Regions from separate parts of the Homo sapiens genome. Here regions 1, 2, 3, 5 and 6 are each linked to region 4. Evidence: promoter capture Hi-C in human tissues and cell types (Jung and others, 2019). All regions are on one chromosome and are shown on one strand. The core of a region is centred on a gene start or on the middle of the fragment in contact, and the rest is flanking DNA. Distances in the headings are between cores, read along the strand shown. Region 1 has its middle 95 kb from the start of LINC02911. Region 2 has its middle 30 kb from the start of LINC01571. Region 3 has its middle 140 kb from the start of LINC01571. Region 4 holds the start of SALL1 (spalt like transcription factor 1). Region 5 has its middle 130 kb from the start of LINC02911. Region 6 overlaps LOC105371257 (a long non-coding RNA gene).

The links. The method cuts DNA at HindIII sites, captures the fragments that hold promoters and counts their contacts. A contact is called where the count stands out against the background at its distance.
Region 1: a fragment that was not itself captured here is called in contact with the fragment with the promoter of SALL1 in region 4 in 1 of the 25 tissues and cell types used here (dorsolateral prefrontal cortex).
Region 2: a fragment that was not itself captured here is called in contact with the fragment with the promoter of SALL1 in region 4 in 2 of the 25 tissues and cell types used here (lymphoblastoid cells and mesenchymal stem cells).
Region 3: a fragment that was not itself captured here is called in contact with the fragment with the promoter of SALL1 in region 4 in 3 of the 25 tissues and cell types used here (IMR-90 fibroblasts, lymphoblastoid cells and mesenchymal stem cells).
Region 5: a contact is called between a fragment that was not itself captured here and the fragment with the promoter of SALL1 in region 4, in 2 of the 25 tissues and cell types used here (dorsolateral prefrontal cortex and mesendoderm cells).
Region 6: a fragment that was not itself captured here is called in contact with the fragment with the promoter of SALL1 in region 4 in 2 of the 25 tissues and cell types used here (IMR-90 fibroblasts and dorsolateral prefrontal cortex).

What each region holds. Positions count from the first base shown.
Region 1 is chr16:51,981,108-51,984,266 of GRCh38, forward strand. No RefSeq gene overlaps it. Among named protein-coding and RNA genes, the nearest start is that of LINC02911, 95 kb to the right of the region's middle. The HindIII fragment of the contact is 5,917 bases long and covers 1-3,159 here.
Region 2 is chr16:51,791,158-51,794,327 of GRCh38, forward strand. No RefSeq gene overlaps it. Among named protein-coding and RNA genes, the nearest start is that of LINC01571, 30 kb to the left of the region's middle. The HindIII fragment of the contact is 3,548 bases long and covers 37-3,170 here.
Region 3 is chr16:51,901,487-51,904,571 of GRCh38, forward strand. No RefSeq gene overlaps it. Among named protein-coding and RNA genes, the nearest start is that of LINC01571, 140 kb to the left of the region's middle. The HindIII fragment of the contact is 4,381 bases long and covers 1-3,085 here.
Region 4 is chr16:51,149,478-51,152,756 of GRCh38, forward strand. SALL1 (spalt like transcription factor 1) reads right to left here and starts at 1,793. Exons shown (of 3, transcript NM_002968.3): 1 at 1,689-1,793. The coding sequence starts at 1,764. RefSeq lists an enhancer at 990-1,490. The HindIII fragment of the contact is 9,229 bases long and covers 1-3,279 here.
Region 5 is chr16:51,949,394-51,952,531 of GRCh38, forward strand. No RefSeq gene overlaps it. Among named protein-coding and RNA genes, the nearest start is that of LINC02911, 130 kb to the right of the region's middle. The HindIII fragment of the contact is 3,631 bases long and covers 1-3,138 here.
Region 6 is chr16:51,746,008-51,749,215 of GRCh38, forward strand. The region is part of intron 3 of LOC105371257 (a long non-coding RNA gene); the gene reads right to left. Among named protein-coding and RNA genes, the nearest start is that of LINC01571, 15 kb to the right of the region's middle. The HindIII fragment of the contact is 4,003 bases long and covers 1-3,208 here.

The sequences.
Region 1 (3,159 bases), core at 398-2,897, 830 kb after region 4:
CCACAGACAAAGACTATTCTCACACTTTGCTAGCCCATTTATGGATCATGATTAGCAACTTGACTGTGGTTGCATAGGTTTCAAATCCTGAATTTTTCTTCAGGACAAATTTTGGGAGGCAGCTTTACCTTAAATACATCTATCAAAATTAGATATGCTAAATTTCCAAGATTTTGAAATCAGCCTTTGTTTTCCACTTTTTGGCATTTCTGAAACTGGGATGTACCCTACAATTGATGTGTAAGTTTAATCTGGCAGTGATTCTTTCTTCTTCTTCTTCTTCTTCTTTTTTTTTCCCCTTGGAGGGCTATTATTGGATCAATGGTGTGTGTTACAGTCAGCAGCATCTTAGGATCAAGGAAACAGAGTGTGCACACTTGTGGGAAATATGAGCATGGATGTGTGTACTTGCTTGTCTGGGTATTTCCACTCATTAGCTCCTTTTTACTACTAAATGCACACCAACACAGCCCTAGGGTCCTGGTAGGGCCCATGGTCCAGACTCCACTAGCCAGCCTACAGTCTTCAAGGAAAGCTACAGCCCTACACGATCAGTTTCTATTCTAAAGGGAGAAGCCTCCATAAGCTCCCAGCATCATCAATAAGCCAAGAAAACCCTGCGATTATCATTGTTGCTATATCCCTTGGTGCTCAGAGGATACCCTCAGAAGAGTTCAAACTCTTAGAGGTCCACGTTCCTCTCTGTGCCTTGTCCCTCTCTCTGTCAGCTCAGAGGGACAACCTCTCTGATCTGGCACAGAAACTCTCTCTTATCTGGCACAGAGGGGGACAGAGTCTGAGCCAGCACAGAGAGGGACAAGGACACAGGCCACATGCCTCTGTTCTGGGTTCCTATTGGAGACACCAAGGCCAGGTACTAAACTTATGCAAGAGGGAGCCGTCTTCTGCAAGTGAGGAAAAGGCTTCAGCATTTAAGCAGGATTTCTTTACAAATTCCTTAATTTCACCTTCCTGAATTTTACACTGAATTTTGTCAGTTTATAAATTTGCACTATAGCTCGGCACTGGGAAGAGGAGGGGGGCAGATAATCAAACCTACGGGCGTTTTACACACAGACACTGAAAAATAAAGACCATTAGCAAAAAGTATAATTAAATTAAAATGCCAACTTGCCAAGGAAGCTCAGTAAATGGGAAATATATCAAACTGTGATAATACAAATGGGCTATTTCTCAAGATGTGAGAATGTCAATGGAATAAACTCTGATAATTTGCTGACTTTTTATGCTGAAGGTAGAGTAATACCTTAAAAATAAATGACCACAATAACACACACACACACACACACACACACACACACAAAACCGTGCAGTATGTGCACAACTGTTTAACCATGCTAATATCACAAGCCTAGGAGCCCCCAGGGCTGGAAGATCTAGAAAAATCACTTAAAGCCCAATTTCTCCTTTTGGGTGAGTTGGCCAGACTCCAAATCCCAGCAGAAATTTTTTATTAGTCACTGGATCTACTTTCTTAGGTCCACTCAGCCTAATTTATTTTGAATGCGTGTTTGCCAGTTAAGTTTAACATATCCAGTTAACGATAGCTGAATATTCTCTAAAAACAATCTTATAATGAAGCTACGGTTCTTTGTAGAATATTGAAAATTACTTTTGGCATGCAAGTTCGTTTCCTTAATTCCTCTTTTAGTGTGCAAATAACCTTTGAAAACCTGCTTCTAGGTGTTTATGTGTCAGGACAGTATCAAAAATTATTCAATTGCCAAGTCACATGTCAACACTTCTACTACAAAGCCTCTGAGAACCCTGATTCTCACTACTCTGCTGCCCTCTAGTGGAAACCTGACAAATCCTCGCCTTCATTTCAATTTATTTATTTCAATGGAAGCATCGAATGGAAAACTCTTTGCATCACACCTTGATGGTAAGAGGCACTTTAGAAGTAGCAAACTTTAAATGACCTGAAAACTGGAGACTCAATTGAAATCCCTTGGAAGAACATTTAACGGAGGTGAGGCTGTCAAATATTTTCTAGTTATTTATCTAAGAATCACCTGCAGCTACAGCCATGCCTTGGAAAAAAAAGACGGGGGGCAACCCCTATGTTCATGTGATGGGCTCAATAGACTGTCTGCTCACGGGATGTTTGGGAATGGCTCAGTCTCTCAATTCTAGAATCACAGTGCACAGGCCAGAGTGTCAGGGGGAGAAGGGACATTTAAAGTTCAGTCATCCTACTGCTGGATGATTTCAAGCAACATAACTGAAATATTCAAATTCTTAGTTGAATTAAAGAAAAATCACTACATATATAACAGTACAGCAGGTATGCAGTTATCACAATGACGTGCAATTGATGAGTCATTTCATTTCCTTCCGTCATCTGATGAGAAGACAGACGCCCAAAGAGGGGAAGGGACTTGCCTAGCACCCACAACTAATAGGTGGCATAGCTGTCACCAGAACCCGTGTCCTGTGATTCATAGTTCAGGTATTTCCCTGTTACAACATTACAACAGGTGCCTTCAAAATTTATTTTTTACTTCTATGTTCGCAGCATGTGTGAAACACATTTTCATAATGTTGCAATGGACATTAACAAGTAACCTGACAAATAAGAACTGAATTATGGAACCTTATGGAACAATTACTTTTAGGAATAAATTAGAGTGGATTCCAGTTTATTCCCATAACTGCATCACTCTTGGAATCCATGAGTGGTTTGCAAGTGGTGCAAATACAGCCACGAGGAACTGTTCATGTGAGAAATAGAAATTTCGATTCATAAATACTGATGTGTGAGAAATGTAACTTTCTTTAAAAACTCAGTTTCTATTTAGACTCCCATCTCACTGAGTGATGGAAGCTTACTTTCAGTTGATTCAGTGTTGGTCTGTCTTCCCACTTTATCTGGATTTGAGTAGAGGGACCAATGTAGTAGGAAAGCACCAGAGAGACAGGTGCAGCCCTAGTCCCCAGTGTCATCATTTCTTCAAGGTGGCACCCGTGAGATTTCCTCATCCCTGTCAGGCGCTCCGTCAACAGTCTTGAGGCCTGCCAACCCCATCAGCTCCTGAATTAAACCCAGCATGCCCCCAGTGCCTAGGAAACTTCCACTGCTTCCCCACCATGAGCTGCCCTGTTGACCCAGGCATGGCACGTGGTTGTGTACACCCT
Region 2 (3,170 bases), core at 561-3,060, 640 kb after region 4:
TGGGGTCTCACTCTGCTGCCTAGGCTGGAGTGCAGTGGTATGATCATGGCTCACTGCAGCCTCAAACTCCTGGAGTCAAGCAATCTTCTTGCCTTACCCTCCCCAGTAGTTGGAACCACAGGCACATGGCACCACACAAGACTAGTTTTTAAATTTTTTTGCAGAGACAGGGTCTCACTATGTTGCCCAGGTTGGTCTTGAACTACTGTTCTCAAGCAATTCTCCCACCTCAGCCTTCCAAAGTGCTGAGATTGCAGGTGTAAGCCAACGCACCTGGCCACAGCTTCTATCTTACTTATAACTTGTGTGGTGAGCAAAATTCTAAAGATACTCCCTCCACCCAAATCCCAATTTCATGACTATTTAATCTGACACCAATCTAGAAACTGCTGTGAAGGAATCTTGCACATGTCATTAAAGTTCCAAGTCAGCTGACCTTGAGGTGGGGAAAGTTATCCAGGTGGGCTGTGTCCAGTCAGGTGAGCCCTTTAAAGGCAGAAATTTTTCTCCAGTTGGTGGAAGAAGGACTAGGGGAAAGATCTGAAGCCTAAAAAAGACTCAGTGTATCAATGTTGACTTTGAAGATGGAGGGGCCACATGAGAAAGATCGTAGGCAGCCTCTAGAAGCCAGAAAAGTGGGACCTCAGTTCTACAACCAAAAGAAATGAATTTTTGCAACAACGTCAATAAGTTTGTAACTGGATTTCTCTCTGGAGCCAGTGGATGAGGACTTAACTTGGCCAATATCTTGATTTTAGTCTTCTCTTACTTTGAGCAGAGAACTCAGCCATGCCATGCCAGACTTCTGACCTCCAGAACTGTGAACTAATAAATGAGTATTGTTTCAAGCTGTTAAATTTGTAGCCATTTATATGCAGCAATAGGAAACTAATATAACTTGAAAGAATATGGCAGCTGGAATATGGAATTTGAGTATTTGGAGTTACATGAGATCTAATCATTTGGAATGAACAAAATAGTTGATGTAGGAGAGAGAGGAGAGAGCCTTTGGAGGAAGATTCAGCTCAGTGAAGAAGAAAAAGTTCATTGAAAGAAAGAAGAAACCTGACTAATAGATAATTAGTAGAGACCAGGGAAGACATTAAAAATGAAAGGGAAGATGGATAGACAATTCCATGGAGGATGATGGAAAGCCACAGAAGAGGTTCATGCTGCTAAGTGACAGGGGGTTACATGGCAAGATTATTACTTAGAAGCATGTTTGCACATTTTATTATTTGAAGGCATTGTTGAGACAATATAATTTAATCCTTCAATTATTTTGTAAGATACATATTTAGAGATGAAGGAAGAATATGTGGATTGATCATGGTTACAGGCAAATTAATTTCTGAGTCAAGACCGCAATTCACATCTCCTGATGGCTCCTTTTATTTTGCCAAACTCCTTTGGTACTAGGGCCAGTTCCCTAAGGAAGAGGAATAGCTTACATTGTCACTGGGAAGAGGGCAGAGGCCTGCACAAAACAACTGGACGGTTGATACCGTAGCTTTGCGAGATTAAGCCAAGCCAAGATATGATGACTTTTGCTCCCTAGCCATCTACAAAGTCCTTCACATTGTCACAAAGCCAAATGCAATTAGCACGCAGGGCACGATCTTCCAGGGAGCCTCAAACCTGATTAACGGGTTAGAAAATAGGGCCTGTGGAGCGAGATGATATTGGGAAGCTTGTGCCTGGCAACAAGGTTAAAGGATGACCGGATGGGGAGGGCAGAGCGAGGCTTGCAAGGTGCACAAACTGAACTGCCCTTCCTAGGGCGCGCGCGCGCGCGCACACACACACACACACACACACACACACACACACACACACTAGGTCTGGCCCTGTTAAGCAGTTCCTCTTCTATGTGGTTTTGTTTATTAAATAAATTACGGTTTATTAACCTCAAAGCCACTGCCTTCCCCTCAAGAAACTAAATAGAATATTAGTTCATGCAAAAGATCCTGTTGTTCAGATTGGAAGAGAAGTTACCCATGGGCTGGTATCTGTTTCCATGGGAACCAAAAATAAATATTGATACTGCGTTAATGGTCTGTGTCTCACTTAAGCTCCATTAAATTTCGAGCACTTGCAAGAAAACAGCCCATTGATGGCCCAGCTGAGGGAGAAGGAAGAGGCTTTATAAAAAGCAACAGTGTGGAAGGCACACGGGGTGCAGGCAGGACTTCTGAGTGCTTCTCAACCAGGAAGCTCTTTATGGAATTCTTCCAACCGAGGAGACCTACTTAGGTGCACTCAAAATTGCTGCTTAAGATGCTAGTTGCAGACTGAATAGATTTTTGTGAACCTGTCCTTTTAATAAAGAATAGTTGTATGTTTTACAAAGCTGATCTGTAGACAACAATATTTTCCAGGAACCCACATGCCCAAAACACAATCAACAAATGGACTGAGAGTCCAAATTAGAATATTTCTTTCTATACCAGTTTTCCCAAAGCAATTCAAGTGCAGACACTGAGGTCAGTATTGTTGCCTTTTATATTTATAATCCTGCTTTTAGGAGCAAAGTATTGGATTTATTGCATGAAAGTAGTTTACAGCTTTAAGTACTGCTACTCCTTGGAATAAGGAACATCACAGCCTGCTTAATTTACACAAAGGATGTTAGGACTATTTAATGGCATGTAAACATTTTATAAGGCAAGTTCAAATTGCAGGTGATATTTAATATACTTTAGCAAAATGGACCACAAATGGATTCTAGTTCTTATTTATTGGCCCAATCTTTCTTATGGCATCAAAAGTGAATCGAGTTTTAAAAGGTGTTAAGAGTTTTCAGTACAGTTCGTGACACTGGGCACAATAGGTAAGGCTGCATAAAACAAGCAACATGTGAATTAATTCCAGAACCAGAGAAGCTATGAACCTCTGAATCAGACTTTATCGTGTGGCTTCTGGGGCTCTGTCAATAGGAGTTCTTGTGCCCTTGGTCCCTAGAAGAGCTCAAAGCCCCAAAAGGAGCTGCCAAGATGAGCACTGGGGAAGAATATCGTCCAGAGAGTGTGGTTTCTTGTCATGAAAAACCACCAAGGAGAAAAGCCCTCCCTAGCAAAATGGAGATTTAGGAAGTATCATTAAGCTAGCGATGAGAGTCCTAAGTTATCATAAGAATGCAAAATAATCTGTGTTATAAACTTCCAAAGCCT
Region 3 (3,085 bases), core at 430-2,929, 750 kb after region 4:
GCAACAGAGAGAAACTTTAGAATAATGCTACGCAGGGTCATGGGGGAAGTTAGTAAATTGTAAGCATTTGTGCTGGCAAGCTTTAATTGACTCTTTTCCCCAAATTTACATGCTGTTGTCCAAGTAGACTAAAAAATACAAATAAATATCAGAAAAAAAAGAGTAGGGGGGAAAAAGCATTTTGCAATTGTTGCATTGACAGACATAACTCATTAATGTTGGTCAAATTTGATTGGCACAATATTTATCTTCTAACTGGGTCTAATTTGTAATTTTTTAATCCAGTACGAGCTAGGTTAATTTTCAAATTCATGGAAACATTGACTTTTTTTCAAGCCTAATAAGTTACCTAAAGTGTAAGAGGATGAGGACCATGTGTTAAACTACCTGGTTAAGCTAACTGTTATGTTTTCAATGTTTGTGTCTCTCCACAAGTCATGTGGAAACTTAATCCCAAATGCAATAGGATTAAGAGGTAGGGATGTTTGCAGTTGATTAGATCATAAGGAATTCTCCTTTGTAAATGGGTTTCATGGCCTTATAAATGAGGCTTCACATAGCATTCATAATTTTTGCCCTTCCATCTGCTGCCATGTGAGAACACAGAAACAAGGCATCATCTTGGAAGCAGAAGCGAGCCTTCACCAGACACCAGATATGCTGCACCTTGATCTTGGATTTCCCAGCCTCTAGAACTATGAGAAATGAACTTGTGTGGCTTAAAAAATTACTGTTTACAATATTTTGTTATAGTAGTCTGAATAAACTAAGATATTAGTCATCACCTTTCTCATCCATTTTGCAATAAGGCTTATGATTCCAACAAAATGACCACCATGAGGAAAGTAAGCCCACAATGCTTTTACCCCTTTTATTGCTTTTTACTCTTCAATTCTTTTTTCATGGAAACTTGATACATGAACCTTAGGTTTTCCAACAGGGATAATTGATGACTTTAACAACATATCCTAAAGTCAAACCAATGTATCCCATCACAGCAAGGCTGGTAGGAGTTACAGCAAGCTGAAATAACCTAGGTAATGTCCAAAAGTCAGGCAGGAGAGGTCAAAAGTGATCTCTTGCCCAAGGTTCATACAGCTTCTGCCTGGATCATGGTAAATGCTCAATCAATGTGAGTTAGAAAAAAATAAGTAGAGGTATTCACTTAGCTAAGAATTTGACATGGGTTCACAAAACATATATCACAGAGACACTGAAAACATTTACTCTGTATTCTCAGCATTCTTCGTTGCATTCCACGATGGTATGGCATGGTCATAAAAAGCAAACTCTTTGAGGACAGAGAGTCCTGGATTCAAATCATAGGGTTTTCCACATTCTGGCTAAGTAACACTGGGGGTTCCATGTTGCCTTCCTCACTGAGAAGCCATAAAGCTTCAGTGAGATGGTGGTATCTGCATCTTTACTGCTTGCAGCAAGGCATGAAAGATAATAGGGACTTCTTAGACTAAATGTTGCCTTTGTCCATAATTAAATACCTCCCTGGGCAAATATACTGATGAGTAGTAGAATGGACTTAAGCCTCACAAGGAGATAGGGCATGGTATCACATTCTCCATTCAGTTCTGACTATAAGTTCATCTTTTTACAGTAAGAGGTAGGTAGGGGAGGAGATAATGGAGTGAGTAAATTAATGGATTTAAATCTCACTCCTACCATGTACCAGCAGTGTAACCTCAGGTAACCTCTCGAAGCTTTCTTTTTTGGTCTTTAAGATAAACATAATGATAGGGTAAATCTTAAATAATAGGATTAAATAAATTAAAACTCTCAAAGTGCTTAAAACAAGAACTAGCACATAGTTTGCAAGCAATTGATAAATACGAATAAAATTTATTTGACATCTATTGTGTTCTAAATAATTTAAAGATACGACCTAATTTAAGCTACACTACCTTCTTGAGAGGTTACTGTGAATAACCCCATTTTACAGATGAGAAGATTGAGGCTTAGAGTGATCATCTTGCTCAAGGTCACCCAACTAATAAGTGAAAGAGGAAGGATTTGAACATGGGTTGCCTGAGAATTTATTTAATCAGACTGGGGAGTGCTGTGAGAATAAAGTCTAGAAGTTAGAAAGAGGAACCTCTTCATTTTGAGAAACCTATGACTCATGGAAAAGAGAGAGGGTGCTGGCCATGAAGGTAGAATACTAGGTGGGTTGGGTGACAGTGATAGCTACTCTGGCCAACAGTTAGGCACACCTACTTGGAGTAGCTATTATTAATGGGGCAGATACTAGTATCTTCATTTTATTGATTTGGTTAACTGGTTTATCTTAGAAAATAAAGTTGGCACACAAATACTAGTCTGTCTTATTTCTCAGCCTGTATTATAAACCTCTACACTATAAGGTTTAAAGATTTCTGAATACACAATGATGTAGCAATTGGGAATGCCTCATCTTCCAGTCACCTGTCTCTTCCCCTTATTCTTGTCTTGTTATCTGTGATCACTAAGACTCTACAAGCACCCCTCACTAGTTTCCGGAGGAGGAGAAAAGTTTATAGAAGCCAATCCTATAGCTGTGAAAGGAAGCAATCTAGTCTAGACCAGCAAAGTGATGGTGGGTTATGACCAAGGAGAGTTTCATTTTATAATATCTATCAAAAAGATTTTCTTTCTGGGGTGTCATGCAATGATCTAAATCAGATTTACAAACCTCTGTATAATCTATGATGTCAAACACATCTTTTAGCAGGTTGAGTTTCTAGAGCAGGTAACTGTATTTATCAGTCTAGTTATGGTCCTCATTCAGAGATGGATGGTCATGTTACTCAAGACAGGCCAATGATACTACATCCTGGGCTTTTGTTGAAATGGAAAGTATGAGCTATAAGGCTGATGTAAGCTTGGAGCTTTGAGAGGACCAGCATTTTAAGGGGTTCAGCCTGAGAATGAAGCCAGTACATGGGAAAGCAGAACCAAGAGATGGGGCAAGAGATATTGAATCCTAATGGCGTCATGTGAACACTGGGATATATCCTTCTCTGAAGCCAGATAACCTAAACTTTTCAGTTATGTGAACAAAAATCTCCATATTTGTTTACATTTGTTTGTCAAG
Region 4 (3,279 bases), core at 543-3,042:
CGGCCTTGGGTCATCTCACCTCCATCTACCCCGCGTGCTCGCTTTCGCTTGGGGTGGAAAGCGGGGTTCAGGGGCTCTTTTCAGCGGACTGAGAAATCGCAGAGGCCGTGGGTAAGGATTCAAGCTTGAGGAAACACTGGGGGCCGGGAGGAGGGCTATTGTAAAGCATTTCTTAATTAATTTCAAGTCCTCCATTTTTTTACAGGGACCCCAAGTCAGGATTCCCCTTTCCCGACATCAGGGGTAAAGGGAGCGGGGGTCCCTTCGCTTCACTGTGCCCCAGCTCTACCGAGAGGCAGGCCTCTGGGAAACGAGCCGGGGACCTGGGGGCCCGGGCGGCCGCAGCTTAGTGGGCTGAGGTGCCGATCAGGGTCACGCTTCGGAGCTCTGTCGGGGCCCAGCTCCCTCCTTCACACCCCAAAATGCCGCCTAGGGCGTGGGCATCCCGAGTGGCATCCGGAGCCGCTGAGACCCCGCCGAGATTGCTCCTTGTGCGTCCTCCCACAGCCGAGAGGCCAGCATCGTGCCGGGACGACCCGGGGACCCGAGTCCGGGCGCCGCTACACCGCCTCGGGCGCTAGGCCTGGGAGCTTTGAGGCCGGTACCGTGAAACACCTTTAGGAGCAAGGAGGGATTCCAGGTGTCCTCCCTTTGTACCCCAACTCCCTGCCCGGATCTCTTCCACTCTCTGCCATAGCCCCCACACACAAACTTTGTTCTGGACTTGTTCAGCCCCTTCGGGACCCACAGTTGTCGCCTCCATCGGAGAAAACAAGTGCCCCTGTTTCAGGGGGGATTCCACTCTGGCTGGCCACCCGCAAACCTGGAAAACTATTCTATGACTTCTTCCCTGACCCCCCTGGAAGTAGGGAGCACCACGATCCGCAGAGGGCGCATACCGACCAGAAAGATTTTGGGGGGCAGAGGGTGCAAGTGTTGTGGGAAGAGATGCGGAGATAAATTTTGCGAGCCAGACCCCGACACTTTCCCCGTCCGTTTGCACCGTCTCCGGAACAACTGGCGGCCAGCAGCACTCTCCACCCCGGCCGCAACCCCAGCGGGTCAGGCGCTGGCGCCCCGACACCAGTCCCCATCTTCTTGCAGCTCTGAACCTCCAAAGACACCCGGTTCTGCCTCGCAGGCCGAGGGGGAGTGTGCGTGGGGGCAGGGGGGCGCAGCGAACTCCCCCACGCTCGGAGTTCAGCCCAGCGCCCGAAGTAAACTTCCTTACCGCTGGCAGCAAGGCCGGGCGGCGGAGGCCGGGCCGGGTGCCCTGGGGCCGGCGCCGGGAGCGCTAGGGGCCCCGTGCGGTCAGGCCGGGGCGACCTCCACCCGCACCCACGCCTCATGGGGCTCCCGGGTCTTGGCCGCGGCTGGGATCCCCGGAAAAGCAGGGACGGAGAAGCCAGGCCGGCATGCCCGCCCTCCTTCCCCCGGGAGGACCCAACAACTCCGGAAAGATCCTGCCGGGAGATGTGCTCGCTTTCCCCGGGGCAGCGGGGGAAAGCCCAGCAAAGGCACATTGAAAATTAAAAAGAAAAAAAAAATTACGCCGAGTGGAAGAAGCAATCGGGGCCGCGGCGGCGGTGAGGTAGGGGGCGCGGGGGCCAGCCGCGTGTGAGTGGGTCCGAGTGTGCGTGAGTGTGAGTGCGTGTGTGTGTGTCCACGGCGCGGGCCGGAGCACTCACCATCTCGCCGGGGGAGCGAGGCCACTTCGGGGTCGGATTGGAAATGTTGAGGCTTCGCTTGCTTCCTCCGCGACATGCTGGCTCAAACATCAGCTGGGGCAGAATAAAAAATTACTAAAAAAAAATCTTCTCAAAATTACGGAAATCGAGCGGCGGCGGCGGCGGCGGCTCCCCCCGCCCGCCGGCCCGCCCGCCCCCTCCCCGGCTCCCCGGCCCCGGGCGCAGCGCGCATGTGTCCTGCTATAATTATGATTATCAATAATGCATTGCGATTAATCATAGAGGGGCTCTTTGAAAGGCGATTGGCACCGGGCCAGCGCTATTCAAACCCGCTCGCCTTAATCAATTAGTTCGTGATTTGCTGCAGACCCCTGTCTCTCCGCGCGCTGGCCCAATAAGCCGGCCGCGGGGCTGGCTCTGCGCGCCGCGCCGCCCGACACTGGGTTAACCCTCTTTGCGACCGCCCGGGACTCCGCGGCCCGGCCGCCGGGGGCCGGCCTCCTCTCCACTGCGGGCCCGGCGCCCCGGCAGGCGCCCCCCGCTCTCTCCCTCTCCCCTCCCTCTTCCCTCCCTCCTTCGCCCCCCCCCACAATCCCGGGCTGGGCCGACCCAAATTAGCATGCCCTCCCCGGAATTGAGCCGCCCCGGGTGGGGGGTGGGGCCGGGCGGCGAGGGCTGGGGACCCGGGCTGCCGGCGCGCTGCGAACTTCCCAACTCGGGGGCGAGGCGCGCCGGCCCGCGGGGGGAGGGAGTCCCGCGGCGGGATCAGGGGGGAGGGCGTCCCGTTTCGTGAGTGTTTCTTCGTTTCTTTAAGAGCTACCAGAAAGCAGCCCACCCCCACCCCCATTAAAAAAAAAAATAAGCGAGTGGGGAAGAGCCAGCCCCACGCCGGTCCGCCTCCCGCCCACGGCTCGGCCTCCCTCCCGCCTGGCTCGGCGCTCCTCCGCCCCGAGTTCTCCATCCCCTGGATCCCGGGCTCGCGGGGGCGCGGAGAAGAGGATCCAGGAAAGGTTTGGGAACCTGATGGGTTTGTGGCTGGGGGGAGGGGCAGTTCTCCCGCCACCCCATCCCCTCCCCGCCAGGGGCACTGATCCTCCAGCTTCTTGCTTGCTCCCTCGCTCCCTTTCTCTACCTCGGACATTCCCAGGACAATTAGGGCTGAAGTTTTCGGGAGAAGCAGCCCCGAGCCCGTGGGATAAGGGGGCGGCCCGGCTCCGCCCAGGACCCCTCCCGGACCTCCCCCCCGGCTGCCCCGGTTGGCTGCAGGGCGCGTCACTCCGCGGGGAGGCGGCGGCAGCGGTGGCGCCGCAGAGCCCCGGGCGGGCGGAGAGCGGGGACCGGCCTGGGCTCCGAGTTCAGCTCCGGCCGGGGGGAGGGGAGGGGCTGCGGCTCACACTGAGCGCAGCAGCGAGCACCGGCCTAGGGAGACACAGCCCGGGCGGACCCGGCACTGGACTGGGCCAGTCCCTGGGACCCCTGGGCACCCCGCCCTGGGGAGGGGGCCGCGCCCCAGCCTTCCGGGACGAGGTGGCGGCGCAGAGCCGGAAAGCGGGGTGGGGGGAGGGCGGTGGGGAGGTGTTCTGTCCGAGGC
Region 5 (3,138 bases), core at 558-3,057, 800 kb after region 4:
TGTAATCAGAATCAGATTCAAGATAAACTGCTAATGGTTAATAGGGTCAGCCACCCAAGCAGCAGCCAGACCTGGAATTTTCCACTCTCACTCTCTGCCTGACATTCACTAGAGGCCACATGTGCATTAGTCTACAGTTCAAGTAACCAGCTCCCGGTGCTGATGAAAGGCAGGAGAAACAAGGGGAGTTACCTTCCACTCTGGCATGGCCAGGGTAAGGGAGGGAATTCCTCTTGGAGAGAAATGATAATCATAACAGCATAAAAATAACACCCAACCCCTTCATCAGCATTGCTAACAACATTAAGAGTTAACTGGCTAACTCTGCAAAAAGGGCTTTAAGTAGATGGCCTCATTAAACATTCGTAACTATCTTTGAGATAAATAGATATTCTCATTTTACAGATGAGGAAACTGAGAATCTAAGGGACCAAGATATTGACAGGAAATCACTCAGCTAAGAGGAGGCAGAGCTGGGTTTGGAGTGCATAAGCCCCAAAGGTTTGTTAGGTGCTATATCAATACACTTTTAGACTGTTTTAAAAATAATTCTAAATTTTTATTTGTTTTGCATGTACCTCATAGCTTACAAACCACTTTCAGATATTAACGTTCCTATTTTAAAGACAGAAAAAAAGTAAAGACAGCTCCAATCAGTATGCAGAAATACACTTCCAAAGAAGTAAACAGAAGGGGAAGGAAGCACTTAATTTCAGCTACTCTTCTCTCCAAAACACACCCCACAGTTACCTAGGAAGGCAGGAAAGAGTTAGTGTGTAAAGGTGCCATAGCCTAGGCTTTTCCATGTTAATGTCCAGCTAATATGGGGTGACTTCAACCATGTGCTGGATGAAAGACAGACAAGGAGGAGGAAGGGGATGAGACAAGCAGGAATGGGCTCTTGGGCCAGACTCTCTGCCCAGGCCCAGCGCTTGACAGGTACCCTGGCAGCCAGAGATATGACGGTGACAGACACAAGACAGTGTGTTATCTCATTCTCTGATTCCATCCACTCAAAGTTAATATAAAACCACCTCACTTAGACATATTATACTTCTCCATGGAAAGGAAAAGCTTCCATTTGAATATAGTCATGGCTGCAAAATCTCTCTTTTTTCAGCTTCATCGACTATCAGGATATTCAAGTCCTGGAGTTGCAATGGAATCCCTGTGGGGAAAGCTCAATTAACTCACTACAGAATGCACACAGAACAAGATGGAGGGAAAAGAGCATGAGAAGGGGGAAAAAAGACATTTCTTTTGAATAATAAAGCTCCAGATTTAAAATTAGACTGTACAATAACAGCCTTAATTCCTGGAAACCCAGATGGGGAATTAAATACATAATATATTGAGAGGAATTTGCTTTCACAGACCTTGAGGATGTAATACGTCTTTTGGCACTTCACACATCCTTGGTGGGTATTTCTGCTGAGTGGAGGAGGCTGTTAACCACCTTTTCATGGAAAACATACCTCCATCTCGAGTCAGAGGTTAAGTTATTCTCTAGCCAAAAGAAGCAATCCATAATGTTTCATTATGGAGCAGGTCTCACAATGAATAGCAGTTGGCAGAGATGGATAACTTAATATGACTCTATTCGGCAGCACTGTAAATGTATCTGTCATCTCCAAGACTGGTTGAAGTGGTCAGACGCCACTTGAGGTCCCAAGCAAAATTCTGGTTGTTTCAGGGGAGGAGCATGGCTGCTGAATGTTCACCTTAATAACAACCACAGCATGAAACATCCCTCAAGCATGTATTTAAGCATCTACTATGTGTCAAGCTACTGAGTAAAAATCTTGGCTTTAACTACTTGCAAACTCTGTAATCTTAGGTGGATAACCACCTCTAGTTCGGTTTTTTCATTTATCAAAATGGGATCAATAATAATATCTGCCTTACAGGGCTGTTGTGCAAAGCTCTTGAGGTAATGACAGGTGTACAGTAAATGCCTAATAAGGGTTAGTTGTTACCTTAACCATCTCAACCAGGGCACAGACTACTGGGAGGCAGGGGGCCTTGCAGGATACAGTGTTTAAGGGGCACTCACTTTCAGGGTCATGCATGCGTGCTTCTCTAAATGTGACACTGCAGAAACCTCACTGGTGTTACTCCAGCACCCGCCTGGATCTCAGCTTTACAGATGTGGAAAGAGAAGCCCAGAGAAAGTGAAGTAACTTACTAAAATCCACCCAGTAGACTATATGCAGAACCTGGATTCACATCCTATCTGTCCCCTACCAGTGGTCATTCTATCATTTGACCATATCACACTGCCTGAAAAGTGAGGTTTCTGGAAATGAAATTTCAACTTCCAAATTCTGGTACTCCATGTCAGGATCCTGAGCAAAACAAAGCAAAACTATCAGATCACGTAGACTTGACACCTGAAGAGACGGTTTATCTGCTGGGACCAAGAGAGTAGAGAATAGCACCCCAACATTAAGAGGCCCCTGCCGAGTCTCTTTCAAGGCCCAATTTAGGTGCTAAATAATGCAAAACTGCTTACCCTTGGAAAGTGGCTGGAGTAATGAGAACTGCATTTCACTGGTCAATAGAAAAAAAAAAAGAAGCGATACATGATTCTCTGGCAAAACCTTCCTTATCAGCTCTGTTGGGGGAAGGAAAAAAAACAAGGCAAATAAATGACAAAAGCAGAGGGAGCATCAATCATGCCATAGTTGGTCTGCCAGTTCCAGCTGCAGGCGTGCAACTCACAGGCCAACCTTTGGCTCAGAGAGGCTGGGCTCACCCCAGCTCCAGGCAGGAGACAGAGGTGTGAGCCTGGTTGGAAACCAGAGCCTCTCCTCCTCTTTGCAGCTCCGCTCCGCCACTTGCTTTCTCTGTGACTTTGGTGAAAGTAGCTAAATGCCTCTGAGTTCCCTAGCCATTTCACAGATCATCACAGCATTCTTTCTCAGCTCCAAAGGCTTGGATCCCCACAAACACAGTAGCAAAAAGAATATTCTGAAATCTCATCTTCTCTCACTTCATCCCTCTATCATTTGGAAAACTTTCTAGATCCTTCATATGTGACATCTTGCCATTGTTGTTTTTTGTGGTTGTTCAGTAAAAAGCAAAAAAAAAAAAAAAAAAAAAAAGAAAAGAAAAGAAAAGCAATAAATAGGCAAAATT
Region 6 (3,208 bases), core at 577-3,076, 600 kb after region 4:
AGCAGAAGCATGTACAGTTATATTTCTCTTTTACTCTTTCTCTTAATATAGTCTCAAATATTTATACTAATTAATACTTTAATCAAGGTAACTAACTTCCCTTTCAGGAAGAAAACTGAAGAATGAATAATTGAAAAACGTCTGTCACACACTGACATTCAACAGCCACTCATATTCTTTATACAGCTTCCCTAAGTGACAAATATAAACTTCTTCATTAACCTGGTCCAAATATATAGCATCTCTGTAGTGTATAAAAACAAAAAGGAAAGCAAAAACAGACAACCTTGAAAATATGTTTAGTAGTCAATGCTTTTTAGTGTAGTGTACCTTAGTTAGAAATAACCTACTATAGAATGGTTATCCGTTAATTAACTCCATTTAACATCATTCTCAGATTTTTAGTTACCTAAAGATGTGGGAATTTATCTTCAAGCTGACACACTACTGAATATAATTACTGTTGAAATAAGTAGTTTGTGAGAATAAAATGATTCAATTTAGTTAAACATAAAGTTATATTTACATTTTTCATAATTTAAACATAATAGAATGTATAAGTTTAGGAAAATATACCCAAGCATAATAAAAATATTTGCTTGTATTATAATTGACATGGAAGAAAAGAGAAGATACAGTGGTTTTTAATAAACAAAAATTATTAAACTAGTCTTGTTTGCCAAAGATTTGCCTTAATTATATGAAATTCAGTTACTAAAGTATTTCTGAGTTATTTCTGTAAGGATATTTTTCTTGTAAGTATACAATAGTATCAGAAATTTAAAGTATTAGAAATTTAATTTTCTTACATTTGGGAATTTTAGGAACATTTAATCTGCACATATACATATTTAGCTTTATAAACCAATTAGAACAGAATTCCTTTCATTTAAGACACCTTACAATATAATTTATTAATATTCTTGGGAAATATGGAAACATTACATATGCACTTAGAGTAAAGTCTTGTCTGAATTGCAGACATGACGTGTAGACAGGGAGACACGTAGAAAACTTGAAGCTTCTATTCTATAATTTCAGCCAAAGATCAAGAGAAAATCCAGAACACAAAAGCTCACCAGTCTGACTATCAAGGAGCTGTTCCCCTTCCTGGTAGGCAAAAAAGTCTTATTTGATTTGAACTAAAAATAAACAAACAGACAAAGGATAATGACTAGCAAGCCAGATTCTGTCATCTCTCACCTAATGGAGACTGGATCTCAACCGACCATTAATCTACATCCAGAGATCACCAAATGCTCTGACCACAAAACTAAATTCCCAAGTCATTATTTCCACCCATGGAAAATAACTTATTAGCCATAGACACAGTAAAAGCAAAAACAAAGAATAAAGCAAAGAAGAAAATTAAAATCAGAAAAGAGGAGAATCAGCAAAGTATTTGTGCCAATTCAGATTCATCTGATTCAGACTGAGAGCTAAGCAATGACATGCGTGGGCTTAAGCTGTCATGAAGTTCACCCTTTGACAGTGAACGTTAATCAGCTCTGACAGGTGAATCCACTGGACATCTGGAAGTATCTTGCAAACTGTCAAAATATAATTTTCAAACAAAGGTATAATTACAACACTCATACACATAAAAAATGAACATACGTCAACGATTTTATATAACATGCTATTAGATGAAGGAACAAGGTAGATGCTATAACAGGGTCAAAGGAGAATTCAAACAGTCACATTTATGGATCAGGAATATTGAAATGAATTTGCAAACAGATGCAAAACTGGCTTTTCCGTGGTAGTGATGATGCTAGTGTGATGGTGGGTGGGGAGTGTGGGTGAAGGAATGTTGTTTCTCCACTGGATAGAATTCGTTTGCATGCTCGTAGACAAAAATCAATTGCATTGCCATCAGTTCTCCACAACTTACGGAGCTGTAACACAGCTCAAAGTCAATGCAAGGCCAGGATCAGATTACCCAGACAGGTGTCTTCTAAACAGTGAATAATTTCCTATTGGAGACACTCAATGATGTTTTTTGCTTATTCCAAATTTCCTTATTATGAATGTGGCCAGAGTCTGACTGGCTTTGAGAAAATAGGATGTTCCTACCAAAAGCATCCCGGCAAGTATTCAGATTATCCATTGCAGTTAAAGGAAGAGATTGAATTTAACAGCTATGTACAGCTACTACGTCCAATGTAATGTGCTAGGCTATGTTTCAAGGATTGAAAAATGAATAAGACATTGGAACTAGTTCTTACTTGTGCTCAATGAGACCATGCTTAATTTGCCGCAGAAAGGCTTATTACCAGTCATCTATTGCTGTGTAACAAAGCACCCAATTGTGGCTGAAACAATAAACATTTACTTAGCTCATAAATGCATAGGATGATTGACAGTTTCTTTTGGTCTGGGATAGGCTCAGCAGATTTTAGCTGCCATTGCTCATGCGTCTGCTGTTACTTGATAGATCAGTTGGGAATTGCCTTGTCTAGGATGGCCTCCCCTGGGACAATTCTCCTCCACATGGTCTCTCATTCTTCAACAGGCAAATATGGGCTTCTTCCATGGTGTCCATGGTAGGGACCAAGAGAGTACCGAGAGCGGAATGTGAAGGCAAGGTCCTTTCTTCTGCCAAAGCAAGTGACAAAGCCATTCCAGATTCAAGGGCCGGAGAAAGAGTATCCACTTCTTGATGTGAAGAATACATTACCAGGACATGGTTACAGTAGGAGTTCTGCTGATGACTGCAATTAATCTACCACAGGCTCTTAACTCATGCAAGTTCACTCTCTAGGGCAGGAGGGAGCCGTGACATAAAAACCTGCCTCACAAAAGAGACTTTGATAGATGCTGCCCAAAGGCTCATACCACCACCATATAATAACGGAACAGGAAAAGGCTGACTTGAGAATATCTGGGAAAGTTTTATACATGTGTGATATGAGCTGAGTTTTGAAAGATGGGCAGAAAACTTCCTTTAAGGGGAGTGGGAAGAGGAGTTGGAGATAACTGAAGGGAGGCCAAGAAGCCCAGTAATTAAAACGGAAATTTATAACCACACTCACTTTTCAGGCACATATGTATAACTAAGGCCATGATAACATCCACAGAGAAATGGTATAGGGTTAAAAAAACACAACTCGGTTCAAATCTTTTCCCAATTAAAGGCAGAATAAATTTGAGCAAGTCACTTTTCCTTCCGAATTTCCTTTCTTCATCATAAAATCCATATTCTGAT